Linked DNA regions of Homo sapiens: regions 1, 2, 3, 4, 5 and 7 are each linked to region 6. Evidence: promoter capture Hi-C in 16 types of primary human blood cells and fetal thymus (Javierre and others, 2016). All regions are on one chromosome and are shown on one strand. The core of a region is centred on a gene start or on the middle of the fragment in contact, and the rest is flanking DNA. Distances in the headings are between cores, read along the strand shown.

Region 1 (2,771 bases), core at 118-2,617, 7.0 Mb after region 6:
AAAGCAAATCCAGGAAATTACTAGGCACAGAGTTTATTACTAAGTATCCCCCCACCCATTCTCCCCCTCTTCCTTAGTAATAAACATCCTCATTTTTAACTGAACACATGGCCACTCAGAATATATTTTCCAGCTTTCACTTAACTTTAAATACTTGTAGGAAACTATGTTTTAGTTAGTAGAAAGTAGCCAGAAATGTTAATATAGTTTGGATGTTTGTCCCCTCCAAATTTCACAATTAAATGTAATCCCCAGCCGGGTGCGGTGGCTCAAGCCTGTAATCCCAGCACTTTGGGAGGCCGAGGCGGGCGGATCACAAGGTCAGGAGATCGAGACCATCCTGGCTAACACGGTGAAACCCCGTCTCTACTAAAAATATGAAAAATTAGCTGGGCGTGGTGGCAGGATCCTGTAGTCCCAGCTACTTGGGAGGCTGAGGCAGGAGAATGGTGTGAACCTGGGAGGCGGAGCTTACAGTGAGCCGAGATCGTGCCACTGCACTCCAGCCTGGGCGACAGAGCAAGACTCCATCTCAAAAAAAAAAAAAAAAAAAGTAATCCCCAATGTTGAGGGTGGAGAGGCATTTGGATCACTGGGGCAGATCCTTCATGAATGGTTTAGCACCATCCCCTTGGTGATGATTGAGTTCTTTCTCTGAGTTCACAGAAGATCTGGTTGTTTAAAAGTGTGTGTCACCTCCCCCATCTCACTCTTGCATCCATTCTCGTCATGTGTAAGCTAGCTCCCCCTTTGCCTTCTGCCATGATTGCAAGCTTTCTGAGGCCTCATCAGAAGCCAAGCAGATGCTGGACCATGCTTCCTGAATAGCCTGCAGAACAGTAAGTCAATGAAACCTCTTTTCTTTATAAATTTCCCAGTCTCGGGTATTCCTCTGTAGCGATGCAAAAACAGACTAATACAAATGGGAAAAATGCAATTTCTACAAAATGTCCTTAAAGGAGAACAATGTGCTTTCTTAACCTTGTTTTTCTGCTGGTGGGAATGTGATTAGGATGGCTGGAAGTTGAGCAGCCATCATGGGCCACAGGTAGAGGTATCATAATGAGGATTGTTAGATATGAGTTCTAAATTTCTTTTCAAAGAATCAATATGTCAGTATGTTCAATTCTTTGCCTTTTACTTTTAAACTTAACTTCCTCATAAAGCAACCTTTTTCGATTACCTGCTCCATCCTGACTCATTCTGATTACCTACTCCACCCTGACTCATTCCAATTACCTGCTCTGTCATAACCATTTTTCCCGCCAAACCACTCACCCTGTCAGTCTCTTTAAGTTAGCCAGTCAGAATTAGTTTAGCCTGTGCGGTCTAACCCTAGCCAATAGGGGAACAACACAGCAGAAGGGGCCACATGCGTCAGGGATAGAACCCCTTCCCTTCCCTTGTCTAAGTCTGTGCTCACCGTTGTTCCATCTGTAAGGGTGCACCCTTCTGTAGAAGTAACTTGCCTTGCTGAGAATTAAAAAGTAAATTCTATATTCGAGTGCTACTTCTTTTGTGGCAACAAAACTTTATTTATAACAGGATGGTGGAACAACAGACTAGAAGAAGCCTGGATTATCTGATACAATGGCAACCCAAGTCCTGGAGTATATCCAGACTGCTGTTGTATGAGAAAAACAGATTTCTATCTTCGGCTCCTGTTATTTTGAACTTGATACCACTTGTAGCTGAACCTAATTTGAACTGATACAAGTAATCATACAGAAGTTACAGTTGTGCAGACTGGAACTTCACTGTCTGTAATTTCAGCACTTTGGGAGGCCAAGGTGGGAGGATCCCTTGAGCCCAGGAGTTGGAGACCAGCCTGGGCAACATAGCAAGAACATGTTGCTATAATTAAACAACAAAACAACAAATAACAACAACACACGCACACACAAACACCAAAGTTGGCTGAGGGAAAAATGGGGCCTTAAATCCAGCCTGCCCTCTCCTTTCCAAGCTTTGCACTGTGCTGTGTGCTCCAGGAGACTGACACACCCTAGTGGCTCTTTAGAAGAGTGCATTTTTACCTAGAAACTAGGCTCTGTGGCAACATTTTTCAAAATATCCTCTCCATTCTCCTTGCCCAAGACCATGGGAACCCATCTCTTGCATCATCATGACATGGATGTGAGACCTGGAGTCAAAGGGGATCATTTTGGAGCTTTAAAATTTGAGTGCCCTTTGCATGGGCCCTGTAACCCCTTTGTTTTGGCCAATTTCTCCCATTTGGAATGGCTGTATTTACCCAATATCTGTACCCCCTTTGTATCTACGAAGTAGCTGGCTTGCTTTTTATTTTACAGGCTCATAGGCGAAAGGGACTTGCCTTGTCTCAGATGAGACTTTGGACTGTAGACTTTTGGGTTAATGCTGAAATGAGTTAAGACTTTGGGGTACTGTTGGGAAGGCATGATTGGTTTTGAAATGTAAGAAATGAGATTTGGAGGGGCCAGGGCAGAATGATATAGTTTGGCTATGTCCTCACCCAAATCTCAACTTGAATTTATCTCCCAGAATTCCCACGTGTTGTGGGAGGGACCCAGGGGGAGGTAATTGAATCATGGGGACCGGTATTTCCCATGCTAATCTCATTATAGTGAATTAAGTCTCATGAGATCTGATAGGTTTATCGGGGTTTCCCACTTTTGCTTCTTCCTCATTTTCTCCTGCTGCCCTCCATGTAAGAAGTGGCTTTTGCCTCCTGCCGTGATTCTGAGGCCTCCCCAGCCATGTGGAACTTTAAACACAATTTAACCCCTCTT
Region 2 (2,775 bases), core at 24-2,523, 5.5 Mb after region 6:
ACTGAAAAAAACCTTTTTATGATTAGTTATCCATCTATTTATGTACATATGTACAGTTGGAATTCATTCCAAGGGCTTGCAGTTGAGCTCTCGTTCTATTTTATTATCTACATATGTATATAAATAGATGGAAATAGATATTAATGACACCGGGCATGGTGGCTCACACCTGTAATACCAGCACTCTGGGAGGCCAACATGGGAGGATCACTTGAGCCCAGATGTTTGAGACCAGCCTGGGCAACACAGTGAGACGCTGTCTCTACAAAAAATAAACAAAAATTAGCCAAGTGTCATGGTGTGCGCCTGTAGTCTTAGCTACTTAGAAGGCTTAGGTGGAAGAATCACTTGAGCCTAGGAGGTAGAGGCTGCAGTGAACTGAGATTGCACCACTGCACTCCATCTTCAGCAACAGAGCAAGAACCTGTCTCAAATAAATAAATAAATAATAGACATTAATGAGCAATGAGCATTTATTATGTGTCTGGCGCTAGTGCTTGCTTTACATGAGTTTATTGTCACAATCCTCACCTCACCCCTATGAAATAGATGTGATTGTTATCTAAATTTGATGAACAAGTAAACTGAGGCACCAAAAATGTTCAAAGTCACACATCTAATAGTCAAGGCCACGCATCTGATAAATGGCAGCTTCAGGATCTGCACCCTGGCAGTCTGGTGCTAGTGCACAAGCTTTCCCCTTCACATGATCCTGATGATTCTTACCCAAACTTGGAGACTTTGCAGGGGCTTGCACACTTGAGCTCTTGTTTTCCTGAGAGCTAACATAGGGGACTTAGGACCCAGTTCCTGAGGTCAGCTGTAAATGTATTTCCAAGAGCTTGCAAAATTCAGGGAGCTGAAATGGCTGTGGGGAGGGATGATGATGGACCCTGCACAAAGGTGGGATTAAGAATTCTGAAAAGCACAGGAAAATCCATACTGGAAAGATGATGGGATGTAGTCCAGAGGTCAAAGGTCAAGAGCTCTTATGGGAACAGCAATGGGCAAACATGCTTAATGTTGAACTGGCTACTTACAAGTGACACCTTGCAGGGAGGACATGTGCTCTATGTCCTGATGAGAAGAAATGCTAGAATGCTGAAGAACCCTACCTCCAGAGACCAGACCCTGCCCAAGGTCCTACTGGTCTTCATTAAAGGCAGCATGTCAGTTAGGATCCGAGAGAGGCAGATGACAAGACAGAATCAGACATGTAAGAGGTATATTAAGAGAAACACCTGAGAAGGCTGAAAGGGCAGGGAGCAGGAGTAGGGGAGGGAATATTTGGCCTGTGATGCAGCCTGATTCTTGTAAATGGAGAAAGAAAAGGAAAGAGGACTGGATAGGAGGAGCCATAGATGGTTCAGAGGAGCTCACAGAAAACCTCAACTAGGCCAATGGGAAACTCTGGCAAAGTGTGATCGTTAGAGCTCTGTCCTATACTGGGCAGAAATGGCTGAGGTCTGTTACTGCCACCATACTTAGGGTGGGAGCAGTGGCCTTTGGTGTAAATGCCAGGACAAATCTGAAGGCGTGGCAGCCAGGGTCATTGGCCAACTGAGCTTCTCGAGGCAAGCACCCTTCAAAGGCAGTCTGAGGGGTGCACTCCCATGACCACCATAGGCACTTACTCTGGGCTATTTTCAAACACCTCACTAGGTGTCACTAGCCCCACTGAAAGATGGAGAAACATGCTCAGAGAGGGTGAGCAACGTTTCAGAAGTCACACAGATTGTAAATGGAAGATGGGATCTGAACCAAAGTCTGTCTGTTTCTGTTTGAACACATGGCCTCTCTAAGATATTTGTAACCATATTGAGGTGCTTAATAAATCCATGAATTAGGTAAGGGAAGCTTTGAATTACCATAGGGCAGAGAAGAGGCATTTCAGACAGCATAATTTCATCAATAAGCTCAAGCATGGAAAACGAACTAGCAAAAACTTCATATGATCAATTCAGATAGTAGGTCATTGACATTCATGATTTAAAATTAATGGTTTCAACCATTTGTGAGACTCCCTGGTTTGTAACTCAAAATAAATTCAAATTTTATTAATAAATACAGTTGAATATTCCAGGAATAAGCAAGCTGATATTCCTGAAAGGCCTACATAGCCAGAGAGAGAACCTCATAGCTAACTTACGAACCTTGCCTCGACTTAGCTTCCTTATCCTGAGTCATTGTCTCACATTCAGAAATGTTCATAAGGTGAACCAAGCTCTATTTCTTCTTGAAAAGTGGCCAAAAAAGAAGCTGCTAATGCTAATGATGGAAGTGAAATACCTAAAGGAGTCCTTAGCTAAAAATGAAAAGGTTTAGATGAGTTAGAGTATAATGCCAAATTTATCTGTGGACAGAGTCATACCCCAAAGGGGTTTACCATGTGGTCCTTTAAGAAAAAGATATTTGAGACCCCATTTCCAGACAGTGCTCTGACTACCACCAAAATTGCTCACTGAGCAAGGGAGAGATCTTTAAGGGACTAAAAAGGAAGAGGCCAGTTGGCTGCATTTTATGTCAAATCTTGTAGGCTATGGGGATATGTGTGAATTTGAAAGATTCCTAAAGGTCCTATATTTATCTCAAAAAAAACCATTAAAGTCAAGGATCCACTGCATTGTGGTTTCTTGATTTCTCTCCATAGACCTTCTCCCTGCTTAATGTTTTCATTTTAGAAATGGTCCCACCTTTCACGCAAATGCTCAGGCTCAGAAACTCATCCTCTCCTTTGATGCTGTTTTCCTTATAGCACACATTAAATTCTGCAGC
Region 3 (2,700 bases), core at 149-2,648, 6.8 Mb after region 6:
AATGAGTTGGGAAGAAGAACAGATTTCAAGAAGAGGTGAGAATTAATAACATAGAAACAATGCCCATAAAAAAAAAATAGGACAGAGAGAGACATCAGAATGTCTACACTACATGAGGACACGGTTCACATTAACAAGCATCAAGAGAGGGGCAGTCAGCAGTGCTCTGAAGGGTCTCTGGAAGCCCAGGATTAGATGAAGCACATGGAAAATAGGCGGGAGCAGCCAAGAACAGGCACCTCAAAATTAAAGGTATGATGAGGCTAAGGGTAATTTTGAAGGGAGCATTACCATCTGCTTAAAAAATGAACCACTCGCACAAAAACTTACAGAAACCCATCTGGAATAATAAGCAATAACTGATATTTACCTGTATGGACAAGTTATAAAATATTTTGGCCACTTTAGCATAATCTGAGCGTCTGAGGTCAACACTTCCTCCAGGGAAAAGGATTCTGAAACAACGTTACATAAATCAAATAGGGTGTATTTTGCCACCCCCGACCCATACACACACAGAAAACAATCTTTTTATTTTAAAACAATTTTTCTTATTACATATGCAATAAGATCCTTGAAGAAAATTAGAAAAGTAAAGAAAAAAGAAAATATAAAATATTTACAATCCCATTCAGAAACTACAGCAGTTAACAACACTTTAGTGCATATTTTCCAAAAACTTCTTCAAAAAATTTATTTAATGAAATAGAGTGTGGGAAAATTAAAAGTAAATAAGTAGGGGAGGGGCAAGAGTACACAGAGCTAGACATCAAAGACAGACAAAATTCCAGGTATAGCCAGGTTTAAATGAAGGTGATCTGTGATGCCAAATCAATTGCAGGTCCATAATTATGGGTAGGTTTTAGCTCACAAATAATTTAACTATAAAGAACAAGCTGGTCATAAAAATATATTTAAGCTAGAATTAAATTTCTACAAGAATTTAATTCTTATCACCCCGAGTCTCTTCAGAAACACGCACAGTATTAGAACATTTTTTTCAAGAAACATAATTACGATTCTAGAAAAAGCCTAGGAAAAGAAGGCAGTCAAAAATATTTGATATTATTTTACACACTTATAAAGGTGAAATATAGAAAAATATTTTACCATGTTTTTATATCAACTTTTAAAATTAAACTTTAAATTTAAAATTTATAGCAAGGTCTTGAAAGAACCAAGGATATTCAAAAGAGGTAAGAAAAATGGTATTAATCATATTAAAATTTTGAAAATATTTAAATACGAGCTTGAGATATGTGAAATATCACTTGTGTGATTGTTGTTATTCAAGAAATATATTCTGTTTCTTCCATGAGCTAGACTCGACTTGCCTGGAGAGACAAACATGAGTGGCTTTTGCTGTTAGGAAGATCACAGTCTGGTAGAAAACATATAAGCATCTGTGTGGGAGAATATCTACCACAAATCCAAGCAGAAAATCCAACAATTAAAAGTGGCTTAGTGAAGACTCATTAGCATTCTCTCTTTCCATTAACTCAGTATTTTTTTTTAATTTTTATGTTTTGCATCCCAGGTCTCCAGCTTACAGACATTAACTTAGTATTTAAAAAGCTGCCTATGACCAAATACGGTATGTCTAACCCCAAACTCCTTTCATGCAGCAAAACCTGACTGTCCCTCCTATATGACAAACTCCTTAAAGCATGGCTCTGTCTTTTCATCTCTGCATTCCCCTGCAAAATACTATGGGGTCCACTGCATAACAGTGACTCAATAAAGGTGCTTTTGAAGTCACATTAGAATACGGCTCATTTTCTGGTGACACTCAGAGATATAAATAAGGCCCCTAATTTAACCCACTTTGGAGTGCAGCTTTCAGTGACTACATGAGAGAGAAAAGGGGCCTACAGGAGCAACAATTAGTGGCAATGCAGAAAACGAGTGAGGAAGATAGAAAATGGACTCCTTTTGCTGGTTTGCATGAAGACATACTGAGCATCTGGACAGGCTAGCTCCCCAAAGTATGTATTCCTGTCTACACTGCTACTTGATTCAGATTCCTCTCCAAACAGGAATGCAACTGGGGAGAGGGTGGGAAGAAAATGAAGTGTTTCAAAAGGTCTATTTTTGAGGTTCTACTATTATATTCTAGCCTAGACTTAATGATCTTTGTCCATGCCAAAGTACCTTGCACACAGCACATACTGGGCATTGTAAATGTTTTACTAAATTGAACTGATTTTATGGTAAATATTTACTGAACCAAACTGAACTGAAGGCAAATAATTTTCTAAACATAGCTTTTTAAAAGAAACAATAAATTAACATGGTTTTAGAAGTAAAAATAATAAAGCTCTTTTAAAAAAACATTTTACAGTAAAATACTTCCACCCTATTCCCAATCAGAAACAACTGCCATTAAAATCTGCTGTGTTGATTTGGTAGAAATATGCATATCTCTTCACCCCCACCTTTAACAAAAAGCAAACGGGGTGTATGCTATACACACCATCACGTGCCTTGCCTTTTTCACATAACACTATCACATTGTTCATAGGACAATGGTGATCTAAGTCAGCATCTACAGATAGCCGCATTTTTTAATTCCTGCATAGTATTCTATTGAATGTACATAGTCTGTTTTATTTAACCAATTCTCACCTGATGGATTACGGGGTGACTGTCAGACAATACTACTAATACAATGCATAGATTTGAGTCTAAGTCTTCATGCAA
Region 4 (2,700 bases), core at 135-2,634, 5.5 Mb after region 6:
ATGACAAATCAACTAACAGTACAGGACATTCTCATTGGCCCTTTTTAAAAAACAATACTGAATTAGATCCCTAATAACAAAATATACAATAAAATGCTACACCAGGTGGTTCAGAGATCTAAATGTAAAAAAGCAACGTTTCAGATCTTTTAGAGGAAAATACAAGAATAATTCATAACATCTGTGTTATGTGTCTTACAAAAAGTATAAAGGTGTGAACCACAAAGTACAAAATGGAAAAATTCTATTAATATATTAAAATCTTAAAATTCTGTTCAACAACGTATACCATAAAAAATGAAAATGTGAGTAAACACAGACTAGGAGAAGTCCTTTATCAAAAATAATCAAAAGGTTCAGGATATTAAAAAAAAAAAATCTACCTATCAATACTACAAATACAAAACAAAAACAGAAGAATAGGCAAGATATACGAACAGGCAATTCAAAGGAGGAAACACAAGGCTACTCTTACCAGTAACTTCACTAGTAATTAGAAAAATGCAAGTTTAAACCCTCAAGTACTACTTCACAGCCACTCAACTGGCAAATATTAAACTTCACCAAATGTTGACAATGTGATGATGGCACAGAACAAGCTCTTATTCATTAGGGGCAGAACTGTAAGTTGATACAACCACTTGGGGGTTAAAAAATGGCAATATCCAGTAAAGTCTAATGTGTGTACTTTCTATGACCCACAATTCCAATTCCAGATTATGCCCTAGAAAAACACTCAGACATGTATGCATGGGGAGAGATAGGCACATACATGTACAGGGCAGCATTATTTGAAAGAAAAAAAGTGGCCTGCGATAGGATGGCTAAATGAAAAGCAAGGCATATTCATATGGTGTAGAACTACATATGTGAAAATAAAGAACTGGAGTTTGGAGGAATTTCAAACAAATGCTGTCAAAATAGTATGCCAAGTAGAAGCCTGTTCACAAAACTTTTAATACGTGCTATACAGTATATATACATATATGTGTGTGTGTGTATAGGTATATTTCTACACATAGGGATATAGATATACTTCCTGGGCAGTTTTCAAATACATTGATTTAATAATAGATACAGTTTACATGTGTGGATACATAATGTGTATGTGCTACATGTTATATATTATTTTGTGCATATATACCTGTATTTATGATAATGACTACCATAAAATGTTTAACAATGGTTAGGAAGGAATACCACAGGAGAGGAAAATCTAGGAATCTGATAATGTTTCATTTCTTCGCCTATATGGTCAGTACATGGGCATCCACTGCATTACTCTCTACAATTATTTATAGGCTTAAATATGTACTATTTCAAATACATACAATTTTAAAGAGCAATACACAGAAATATTTTTATTATAAAGGTTAGAGAACTAGCTCTCTGCCAAAAAGCAAATCCATGAAACAACTTACAAAAACTCAGTGACAAGCATCTTATACAAATTGACTTGATTCAAAGAATGGAAAAGTAGTTAAATGCTAGATATTCTTTCAACAAATATTTACAACACAGATTTTGAGGTTTATGTAAGTCAAAAAATTAAGTGTCCTAAATAAAATTTACAAGTGAAACTAAGACCAAAAGAGTCTTTCCAGTATACCAAGAAAATTGAAATTGAAAGCAGCCTGTGAAAGATAGGGACAAAAACTGTATATTAGAAGAATAATAAATAAGAAAAAGAAGTTACAGACAGGATAGAACAACAAAATAATAGTGACTCTGCACTATGGAATGGTAGAAATGGCTGTCAAACCTATGTAAAATATGAGAAAAGGCAGTTACAACAATGCTGGTTGTGAAATAAAATTATCAAAGGATATTCTCCTACTTTAAATTTAAGACTGATCCTTGGGGTCTTAAGTACAGGATGAGTCACTGGGTTCAACGTGTGGGCACACATGTAGGAGAGAAGTGCTGGCATTTCTCCAAGTACAGAGATAGTGGCTGCCCTTGGAAACCTGACTATAACTGGACAGCAACCACTCCCACCCCCCAGCCCCCCACCCCTCAACCAAGTCAATTCACCAATGCTCTCCGCTCTGGAGCACACATAGTATCTACGGCAGATGATGACAGTCACATGACTAGGCAAGTGACCTGAATCTCACAGGGGGCCGAATAGCCCAGATCCTTCAAAAGATGATTTTCTTTTTAAAAAGAGTTATTCACCAAGGGAGCTCAACATTTCCTTTGAGTCTAATAGGTTATCTAAACCAAATTTGTCCTCAGCTGTGGCCAATTTGATAGGAACTGAATTACATTCAGTGATTTGCCGTTAAAAGATAACCACATCAGCCAAAGGTAACCAAGACACATCCCTGAAAAACAAAGATCAAATGCAGGACAAAAGCCTGAAGCATCCCTCACATCAGGGGAATAAAATACTAAAATTTTAAAAATAATGACTAACAAGAAAATACCATCTTGGCTCCCAGCAGTACCAGAAGAAAGTATAATTAAAAAAAAGTTAAAGCACTGGCCTCCAGACTATACTCCCACAGTGGTACACAGGGAAGAAAAGAACATCCTGAATCCTTAGTCCTCTAATAAAAATGGCCAGAGCTGCAGGACCGAACCAGAGAAACTCATCACACCCACATGTGCAGTGCAGAGCAGACACTGGCAGCAGATAATGAAGCAAGCAGCCCTTGCACCTCCACATTTCCCGATAGATGGCTGAGGCTTTTCCCC
Region 5 (2,700 bases), core at 107-2,606, 9.9 Mb after region 6:
ATCTGTAGAATGGTTTCCTTGACTGAAAGGAAAAACTTGAAAGCTCTTTAGTGCACATATGTCTAAGGAATAATTTTTCAAATAAACAATGGCTTTTTTTTTTCACATTTCACGGAGTCTTGACACACCTCCTTGGAGCACTGCTGTTAACAAATTTAAGGGATTTCACCTTTGGATTTAGAGGTGAGAAGAGAATAACCTTTAATAGATGAAACGCTTTTCTACTCCCAGAATGTCCATTTTCTGACCGTACTGGCATCAGAACCTGCCTTTCAACCTCCTTCCTCCCAGAGTAGCAGCTGCCAGCCCAATATCCCTAACCCAAGTGTCCATCTGAGGACAGAGAGACCAAGCAGTGCTACAGAAAGCCCTGGCTGTGATTCAGGAGGCCTAAGATCTCATATGCCACTTCTCCCCTCTGTTACCTTGGATAAGTCATTTCACATATTTGGGCCTCAGTTTCTTCATTCTTAAGCAATTTTTATTACAGAATATCTATAATTAGATGACAATTATGGGACACTCTGACCCATACGTGTTATGTAAAATAACTTACATATGGTTAAACAAAAATGTAATGATGTCAAAAAATGCAGAAACAAAAGCAAATTTCTTCACCATCCCCATATAGTTTGTTAGGGCTATCATAACAAAATATCACAGACTGGGTGGCTTTTAAAAAGATAAATTTGTTTTCTCACACTTCTAGAGGCTAGAAGTCTAAGCTCAAGGTATTGGCAGGTTTGGTTTCTTCTGAGACCTCTCTCCGTGGCTTGTAGATGGCCGTCTTCTCCCTGCGTCTTCCTGTAGCCTTCTCTCTATGCATGCATGTGCCTGCTGTCTCTGTATTCTGTTCTCCTTATAAGGACACCAGTTGTATTGGATCAGGGTGCACCCTAATGACCTCATTTTTGCTTAATTACCTCTTTAAAGGCCTTATCTCCAAATACAGTCACATTCTGAAGTACTAGGGGTTAGGTCTTCAACAAATAAATTGGGGTGGGGAGGGAAGACAGAACACAATTCAGCCCAACAACAAGCATGCCATCAATTTCTCAAAATTGTGCCATATTTCAGTTTGCTTTATATTTGAACCACGTATTTTTTATAAAGTTTTTTTTTGTTTTTTTGTTTTTTTTAGAAATCCCTGAGTATCTTCGTTCTGTCTTTTTGAGAAAAGTGACATGTGCCTTTATCATATCTCTAAGGTCTCCCAGATCCTTAATCACACTACTATTGTAAAAGAATCCGCTTCTTTTTGAAAAATAAACTTCCCAGAGCCCTCTAACTTTTTTTTCCTCCCCTTAATTTGTCCTGATTGCTTTCTTTGCCAGCTGCATCACTGTCAACCTGAGATTTTCTTTTCATTGAGTCCCTGGGTTGGTTTCCTTTTTTCTTAAATCCTGTGTACTCCTCCTTCTTGGATTCTTACTTTGCTTTGCTGAAGTACATCCATGGCATACACAGAGACATGCTGCTAGACTGCCTTTCAAGAAAGAACTCACTGCCCAGCTGCAAGGAGGATGGTTAACTAGTAGCCATCAGGTGTTAACTCCTCTAGCCAAGGTTCTAAGCCTCTGGCCAATGACTGAGCAAGGTGGTGATGCTAGGGCCCCACCATTTCTGCCCAACTTGAGACTCCTCCAAAAGGAAATCTTTGCTCTGGAGCCACCAAGAGGGTTGGCAGAAACTTTGTCGGGTCTGCATCACTGTCTAATGACTACCCCTACCCAATCCTGTGTCCTCCCCTTTTCCATTCACAGATGTTACTCCCCTGTAAAATGTTGTGCTCTAATTCTGCATGAGCTTCAGCTTACTGGAGAACCCATCCAGTACAACATCCTCAAATAATGTTTACTTACTTTTTATTTGTTTCAGAGAGGAATCATAGATTTAAACTTTATGAGACCTTGCAACTATGAACTATTAGTCCTCATATGTGATTGCTACTTTGATTGGCATACAATTCTAGGCTTAAAATTATTTCTTTGCAGAGCTTTGAAGGCCATGCTCAACTGTCTTCTAGCATCCAGTAATGATGATGAGAAGTCTGATCATAATCCAATTCTTATTCCTTTGTAGCTAGCCTAGTTCTTGTTTAGATTTTGCTTTGTTTTCCTCCATCTCTGAAAGTTACAGGGTTTCATCTTTATCCTCAATGCTTTTGAATGTCACTAGGCTGTGTCCAGGCATGGTTATTTTTCATTCATCCTAACTTGCATGATCCTTTCCATCTGATGACCAATGTCTTTCTTTTATTCTTACCCCTGCATTGTCTCTGTTTTCTCTTTCTGGAGCTCATATTAGATACTCTTTATGTCTTCAGGATCTATCTTTTCTTTTTTTTTTCTTTTCTATCTTTTTTTTGGTGTGTGTGTGTGTGTGTGTGTGTGTGTGTGTGTGTGTGTATAACCAGATCTCACTCTGTCCCAGGAGCTGGAGTGCAATGGTGCAATCAATCATAGCCCGCAGCAGCTTTGAACTCCTGGGCTCAAGAGATCCTTCTGCCTCAGCCTCCCAAGTAGCTGGGACTACAGGTAAACACCACCATGTCTAGCTAATTTTCGTATCTTTTGTAGAGATGGGGGTCTTGCTTTGTTGCCCAGGCTGGTCCCAAACTCTTAGCTTCAAGCAATCCTCCCGCCCTGGCCTCCCAAAGTACTGGAATGACAGGGGTGAGCCACTGTACCCAGTGTCATG
Region 6 (2,700 bases), core at 85-2,584:
CCCAAAAAAACCCCGCAAAGATCATTAAAAGAGAGTTATAAAATAGCAAATATAGTGTTTATCTTATCTGAGATCAGTCCACATTACCAATAAGTTTAGCAGTTTCTGCACTACCACCTCCCCCCTCGCTCCCCCTGCTTCTCTTGCATCGGATTTTCACGTTTTCTCATTGTCGGTTGAGTTATAAAAGGCTTTTGCCCTTCGAAAGTTTTAAAAAATAAATAAATATTAACTCCTTGGTCCCTGCAAAGTCAAAATGGACTTCAGGGGAAAGGCGGTACATACTTTTACCTTTAGCGAGAAAAGGGGGAGCATCCCGGATTTTTAGGGATTTTTTGCGATTTTTTAAAAATTTTTATTTGGTTATATGCCTGAGTTCTCCCTCCATTTTGGTTGTTTATGATACTGACAACAAGCTGTCCCTGCTCTGTGCCGATCTCCTGCTTTCATTTAGCACCCCCTCCCCCTACCCCCCCTCGCAGCCACACACCCCGGGCTCACACCTCCCTGCAGACCCCGCACCCCGACCCCGGCTTGCCCACCTGAGGAAAGGGCAAAAACAAATTCATTTCTCCAGAAAAGAAAAACCTCTTTTGAAAAAGGGGCAAAGTTACCCCAAGTCACTCAAAGTGCCCCCCAAATATTGCCGACTGCGGGTTTCCGCCAGGCCCTTTGGGAAGCGACCTTCCCCCGGGATGTTTTGGTGGAAAATGCGGAGAGTTTACTCTCAAAACTGAATTTATATTAATTTTTCCCTTATTTTTCGGGTCTCTAATGTCTTCCGCTCTCGCTGCTGCCGCTGCCGCTGTCACAATATTCACAGCACCAGAGAGGAGGAGGAGGAGGAGGAGGAGGAAAACTTTTCAAACTTTCCAGACCCTGAATAAAGGTTTTTTTTTTTTTCCCACCGACCTCACCTTCGGGTCCCCAGCCGCATCGCCCCCTGCCCTGTCAGAAGCGACTTCGGGAGTCCTCGCAGCCCCGCGTAATTATTTTATTTTATTTTTTATTATTATTTTTCTCTCTGGGGTCCTGAGCAGGGGCTGAGAGTAGCACAAACTTTTCCTCCTCCTGCCGCCGCCGCTGCTCCTCTGCCCCCTCGGCTAGTCCCATAATTTAAATAACCCTGATATTTCTCCCGCTAAACGCCTCGCCGCCGCCCCGGACCCCCGGAGAACTCACCGCGGGGCTTTAACATCCTCCCTCCGGCCCGTCCGCCGCCTCTACACCGCCCGCGGAATTTCTAATAATTTTTTTCTCATATTTCGGGCTGGACGCGGCGGGCCTGGAAATTGTTTCCTTACGCCTCTTTCCAGCAGCCATTGTAGTGTATGCGCTGCCCCTGCAGCCCAACTTGCAGCTGCCGCCGCCGCCGCCGCCGCCGCCGCCGACGTCGCGCCCACCGCTGCCTCCCCCTGCCTGTTCGGCCACCGCCCCCGCCTCCCGTCGGCCCGCCCCCAAACCCCGCCCGCCGCTGCGCCCGCCCCCCGCGCGCGCTCCGCCCGAGAGCTGGCCACTCGGAGCCGCCGCTGGCGGGAGTTGGCCCGCCCATTGGGCCGCGACGCCGCCCGTCAAGCCGAAGTGTTAAGAGACGGGCCGCGGCTGGGGGGCGCGGTGGGGCGGGGGAAGAGGGGGCGGGGTCGCGCTCACCGCCCCGCCCACTCCTCCCGCCTCGGCCCTCCTTTCGCCAGGCGGGGGCGGGGCGAGGCCCGACCGCCCCTGCGGCCCAGGGCCCCGCGCGGCTGTCAGTCTGGCGGCGGCGCGCGCCGATTGGGCGGGCTGCCGCCGGGGAGCGGGGGCAGCAAGTTGGGATGCGCGCTACTTAAGGTCCTGCTGCGTGAGCCATTGACGTGTTTGGAGCTGGAGACGGCCTGGGTGCTGGCGAAGCGGAGGCCGGAGGTGAGTGGTTCCCCCGCCCTACCTCCGAAGCGGCCGCAGAAAAGCGGGGAGAGAGGGGTGCCCTTGGGCCGTAGCGGGGCCCGAATGCACTTCTGCGGCGCGGAGGCGCTCCCGCCAGGCTTCGCCGCAGCGCGGACCTCTTCCCGTTGCTCTTCCTCCCGCCACACGGGTCTGTTCGCTCCGGGGGCGAGGAAGATGACCTCTGCCTAGTCCGGGCAACCCCAGCTCTTCTTCCACTCTCCTGTGTAGCCTCTGAAGCGCAGTTACCGGCCCCACCCCCAGTTCCCTGCGTTTTCCTCGCCCCTTGTCTCTCTCGGCATGGTCTCGGCACAGCAAGGTGTGTTCACCTGTGCGCGCCGTCCAGGATCAGATGCTGACGGGCTACACCGCGGAAGGCGGCGAGGCCTCGGGTTCGCCCTTCGTTTCTCCTTGCCCTGCGCGCCCACCTCCGGCAGGCCACCCTTGACTTCTTGCCCCCTTCCACTTTGCACCTGGCAGTGGGTTAACGGCACGGCGTGTGCAGCTTCCGGGTTTAGCAGAGCCGCGGACCCTGCCTGGGCTCCGACCACGGGGCGTGTGGGCATGAACGTGTTCAGAAACGTTTCCTTCCCCCTGCCCTTTCAAAGCTACTTAGAGAGGGGGGACGTGAACCACTGGATGGGAAATCAGGAACTGCTTTATTAAGCAGTTTGCCCTTTGGAGTGGATTTTAGAGTTATCCCCTGAATGTGCTATGGTTTTGTGGCCCCTCCTTCATATCTTTGCTTGGTTTTTCTTTCTGGTTATGCTCTGCAAGTAGTAG
Region 7 (2,700 bases), core at 80-2,579, 8.2 Mb before region 6:
ATGGTCTTGATCTTCTGACCTCGTGATCCGCCCGCCTCCGCCTCCCAAAGTGCTGGGATCCATGCCCGGCCAAAAGCATTCCCTTTGAAAGCCGGCACAAGACAAAGATGCCCTCTCTCACCACTCCTATTCAACATAGTATTGGAAGTTCTGGCCAGGGCAATCAGGCAAGAGAAAGAAATAAAGGGTATTCAATTAGGAAAAGAGGAAGTCAAATTGTCTCTGTTTGCAGATGACATGATTGTATATTTAGAAAACCCCATAGTCTCAGCCCCAAATCTTCTTAAGCTGACAAGCAACTTCAGCAAAGTCTCAGGATACAAAATCAATGTGCAAAAATCACAAGCATTCCTATACACTAATAACAGACAAACAGAGAGCCAAATCATGAGTGAACTCCCATTCACAATTGCTACAAAGAGAATAAAAATACCTAGGAATACAACCTACAAGGGATGTGAAAAATCTTTTTTTTTTTTTTTTTTCAGTTTTATGTAGAGACTAGGTATCACTATGTTGTCCAAGCTGGTCTCAAAGTCTTGGGTTCAAGCCATCCTCCTGCCTCAGCCTCCCAAAGTGTTAGGATTACAGAAGTGAGCTTCGGCGCCCAGCCTGTATTACTTTCCTTTTTCTTTCTTTCTTTTTTTTTTTTGAAATGGAGTCTCCCTCTGTTGCCCAGGCTGGAGTGCAGCGATTTCTGCTCACTGCAGCCTCACCTCTTGGGCTCACGTGACCCTCCCACCTCAGCATCCCTAGCTGTTCAAATTTATTGTCCAACTCTTTTGAATCGTTTATCAACGCAAATCTGTCAATGCCCACTTATTTTTATTTATTTTTTTGAGGCGGAGTCTCGCTCTGTTGTCCAGGCTGGAGTGCAGTGGCGCAATCGCGGCTCATTGCCCCTCCGCCTCCCCGGTTCAAACGATTCTCGTGCCTCAGCCTCCCAAATAGCTGGGATTACAGGCGCGCGCCACCACGTCCGGCTAATTTTTGTATTTTTAGTAGAGACGGGGTTTCGCCATGTTGGCCAGGCTGGTTTCGAACTCCTGACCTCGGGTGATCCGATCGCCTCGGCCTCCCAAAGTGCTGGGATTACAGACGTGAGCCACCGCGCCCGGCCCTCATGAACTTATTCTTTAGCGTTTCATTTTGAGAGCGGGATTCACAAGGGAATTGCGGAAACAGCAGCGAGGCCCCGCGACCCCTCGGCCCACGTGCGCGCTGTCCCTCGGGTCGCCCCGCGCCCGCCGGGGGCGGAGTCCGCTGTGACGCGTGCAGGGCGGCGCGCTCCCGGAAGTGACGCGCGACGGTTCGTGCGTGCGTGCGGGCGGCTGCGTCGGGCTGCAGGAGAAGATGGCGGTCTCCACAGGTCGGTTCCCGGGCCGGGCTGCGTGATTTTCCGCTCCGACCCGGCTCTGCCCCTCCGTCTGCTGCTGGCGCCCGAGCGCTGACCGTGCGGGAGAAGCCCGAGTGCGCTGTCTCGAATGCCGCGCTCTCCGCAGAGCGTAGCCTGGGACCGGGTGGGACCGGCGCCGAGGCCCCGGCGGCCGTCGGGTTGGCGGGTCGTGCTCGCGCGTCGGCCGCGCGCCGGCGGGCTGGGGGCGGGGTGGCTCCCGCGCGGGCGCCCCCGTAGGTTCCGGCGGGCGCGGGTCCGAGTTGTAGGCTGAAGGCTCTACGGGAGGGAGGCGAGGAGGCCCAAGGTGGGCGGGTGTCAACCTCCGGCACCGAAGATGGGTCAGGCCAACCGGCACCGAAGATGGGTCAGGCCAAGAGGTGTCCTGGATCAGAGTAGGGGTCCCATTCCTTTGGACTCTCCTTGACATGGGTTGGGGAGTAGAGGACGATTGCTCCTTAAAATAAGAGCGAGAGGATCTTTCTTACCTGACTGAATACGTGTGATCTTTTTATTATTTATGAGGAAAACTGCAGTGCAAACAAAATAAAAGACCAGAGCAAGATGAAAGCTAATTGAAGAACAAGTGGTTTCTTAGATAAGCTGTTCAACTCCTCTTTCCTACTGAATACAATGTTTGGTTTCCTGTGAGCACACAAGTATTAACGTTGAGGTTTTAGACATTAGACCATTTCAGAAATGTTAAAAACGTTAAGCTTTAGTTTACATTTAAAAATGTTAACCCGTGTGATCTGCCTTTTTCTTTTCTTTTCTTTTTTTTTTTTTTTTTGAGTCAGAGGCTCACCCTGTTGCCCAGTTGGAATGCAGTGGTGTGATCTCGGCTCACTGCAACCTCCACCTCCCAGGTTCAAGTGATTCTCCTGCCTCAGCCTCCCAAGTAGCTGGGATTACAGGCGCGTGCCACCAGGCCCGGCTAATTTTTGTATTTTTAGTAGAGACGGGGTTTTGTCATGTTGGCCAGACTGGTCTCGAACTCCTGACCTCAGGTGATCCGCCCACTTCGGCCTCCCAGAGTGCTGGAATTACAGGTGTGAGCCACCGCGCTCGGCCTGATCTGCCTTTTCCTAGTCTTCGTTGAAACAAGAGTATAGAGCAGTGTGATTTAATAGTTTATGCCATCATTGCATAATAAAATGAATTTTCAAATCTATATGTACTGAAATGGAAGGCTTTGAATATATGTTGTAATTGTTGCTTTAGAGTAATACCTCAGGATACATTCTGCATACATTTTAATTAAGTGGTGTCTTTTACATCTTTATTACATATAGGTGTCATAGGTTTTA

What was found. Contacts are between HindIII fragments. The CHiCAGO score rates a contact against its expected background, and 5 or more counts as called.
Region 1: a fragment that was not itself captured here is called in contact with the fragment with the promoter of PLAG1 in region 6 in 5 of 17 cell types (total CD4 T cells, non-activated CD4 T cells, activated CD4 T cells and 2 more); the score reaches 15.9 in total CD4 T cells.
Region 2: a fragment that was not itself captured here is called in contact with the fragment with the promoter of PLAG1 in region 6 in 2 of 17 cell types (activated CD4 T cells and total CD4 T cells); the score reaches 5.6 in activated CD4 T cells.
Region 3: a fragment that was not itself captured here is called in contact with the fragment with the promoter of PLAG1 in region 6 in 1 of 17 cell types (total CD4 T cells); the score reaches 6.1 in total CD4 T cells.
Region 4: a contact is called between a fragment that was not itself captured here and the fragment with the promoter of PLAG1 in region 6, in 7 of 17 cell types (naive CD4 T cells, total CD4 T cells, fetal thymus and 4 more). The highest score is 12.8, in naive CD4 T cells.
Region 5: a fragment that was not itself captured here is called in contact with the fragment with the promoter of PLAG1 in region 6 in 1 of 17 cell types (naive CD8 T cells); the score reaches 9.9 in naive CD8 T cells.
Region 7: the fragment with the promoter of UBE2V2 here is called in contact with the fragment with the promoter of PLAG1 in region 6 in 3 of 17 cell types (naive CD4 T cells, activated CD4 T cells and total B cells); the score reaches 8.5 in naive CD4 T cells.

What each region holds. Positions count from the first base shown.
Region 1 is chr8:63,163,839-63,166,609 of GRCh38, forward strand. No RefSeq gene overlaps it. Among named protein-coding and RNA genes, the nearest start is that of YTHDF3-DT, 3.2 kb to the right of the region's middle. The HindIII fragment of the contact is 1,193 bases long and covers 772-1,964 here.
Region 2 is chr8:61,727,852-61,730,626 of GRCh38, forward strand. No RefSeq gene overlaps it. Among named protein-coding and RNA genes, the nearest start is that of MIR4470, 14 kb to the left of the region's middle. The HindIII fragment of the contact is 1,164 bases long and covers 692-1,855 here.
Region 3 is chr8:63,026,811-63,029,510 of GRCh38, forward strand. GGH (gamma-glutamyl hydrolase) reads right to left here. Exons shown (of 9, transcript NM_003878.3): 4 at 371-455. Among named protein-coding and RNA genes, the nearest start is that of GGH, 11 kb to the right of the region's middle. The HindIII fragment of the contact is 6,105 bases long and covers 1-2,700 here.
Region 4 is chr8:61,706,874-61,709,573 of GRCh38, forward strand. All of the region lies in intron 1 of ASPH (aspartate beta-hydroxylase), which reads right to left. Among named protein-coding and RNA genes, the nearest start is that of ASPH, 6.4 kb to the right of the region's middle. The HindIII fragment of the contact is 5,713 bases long and covers 1-2,700 here.
Region 5 is chr8:66,107,556-66,110,255 of GRCh38, forward strand. No RefSeq gene overlaps it. Among named protein-coding and RNA genes, the nearest start is that of TRY-GTA5-1, 4.5 kb to the right of the region's middle. The HindIII fragment of the contact is 6,679 bases long and covers 1-2,700 here.
Region 6 is chr8:56,209,939-56,212,638 of GRCh38, forward strand. It overlaps PLAG1 (PLAG1 zinc finger), which reads right to left and starts at 1,335. Exons shown (of 5, transcript NM_002655.3): 1 at 1,183-1,335. CHCHD7 (coiled-coil-helix-coiled-coil-helix domain containing 7) reads left to right here and starts at 1,851. Exons shown (of 4, transcript NM_001011671.3): 1 at 1,851-1,899. RefSeq lists silencers at 1,320-1,879, 1,722-1,947 and an enhancer at 1,960-2,029. The HindIII fragment of the contact is 9,849 bases long and covers 1-2,700 here.
Region 7 is chr8:48,007,102-48,009,801 of GRCh38, forward strand. UBE2V2 (ubiquitin conjugating enzyme E2 V2) reads left to right here and starts at 1,330. Exons shown (of 4, transcript NM_003350.3): 1 at 1,330-1,369. The coding sequence starts at 1,354. RefSeq lists silencers at 1,036-1,295, 1,526-1,725. The HindIII fragment of the contact is 2,629 bases long and covers 1-2,107 here.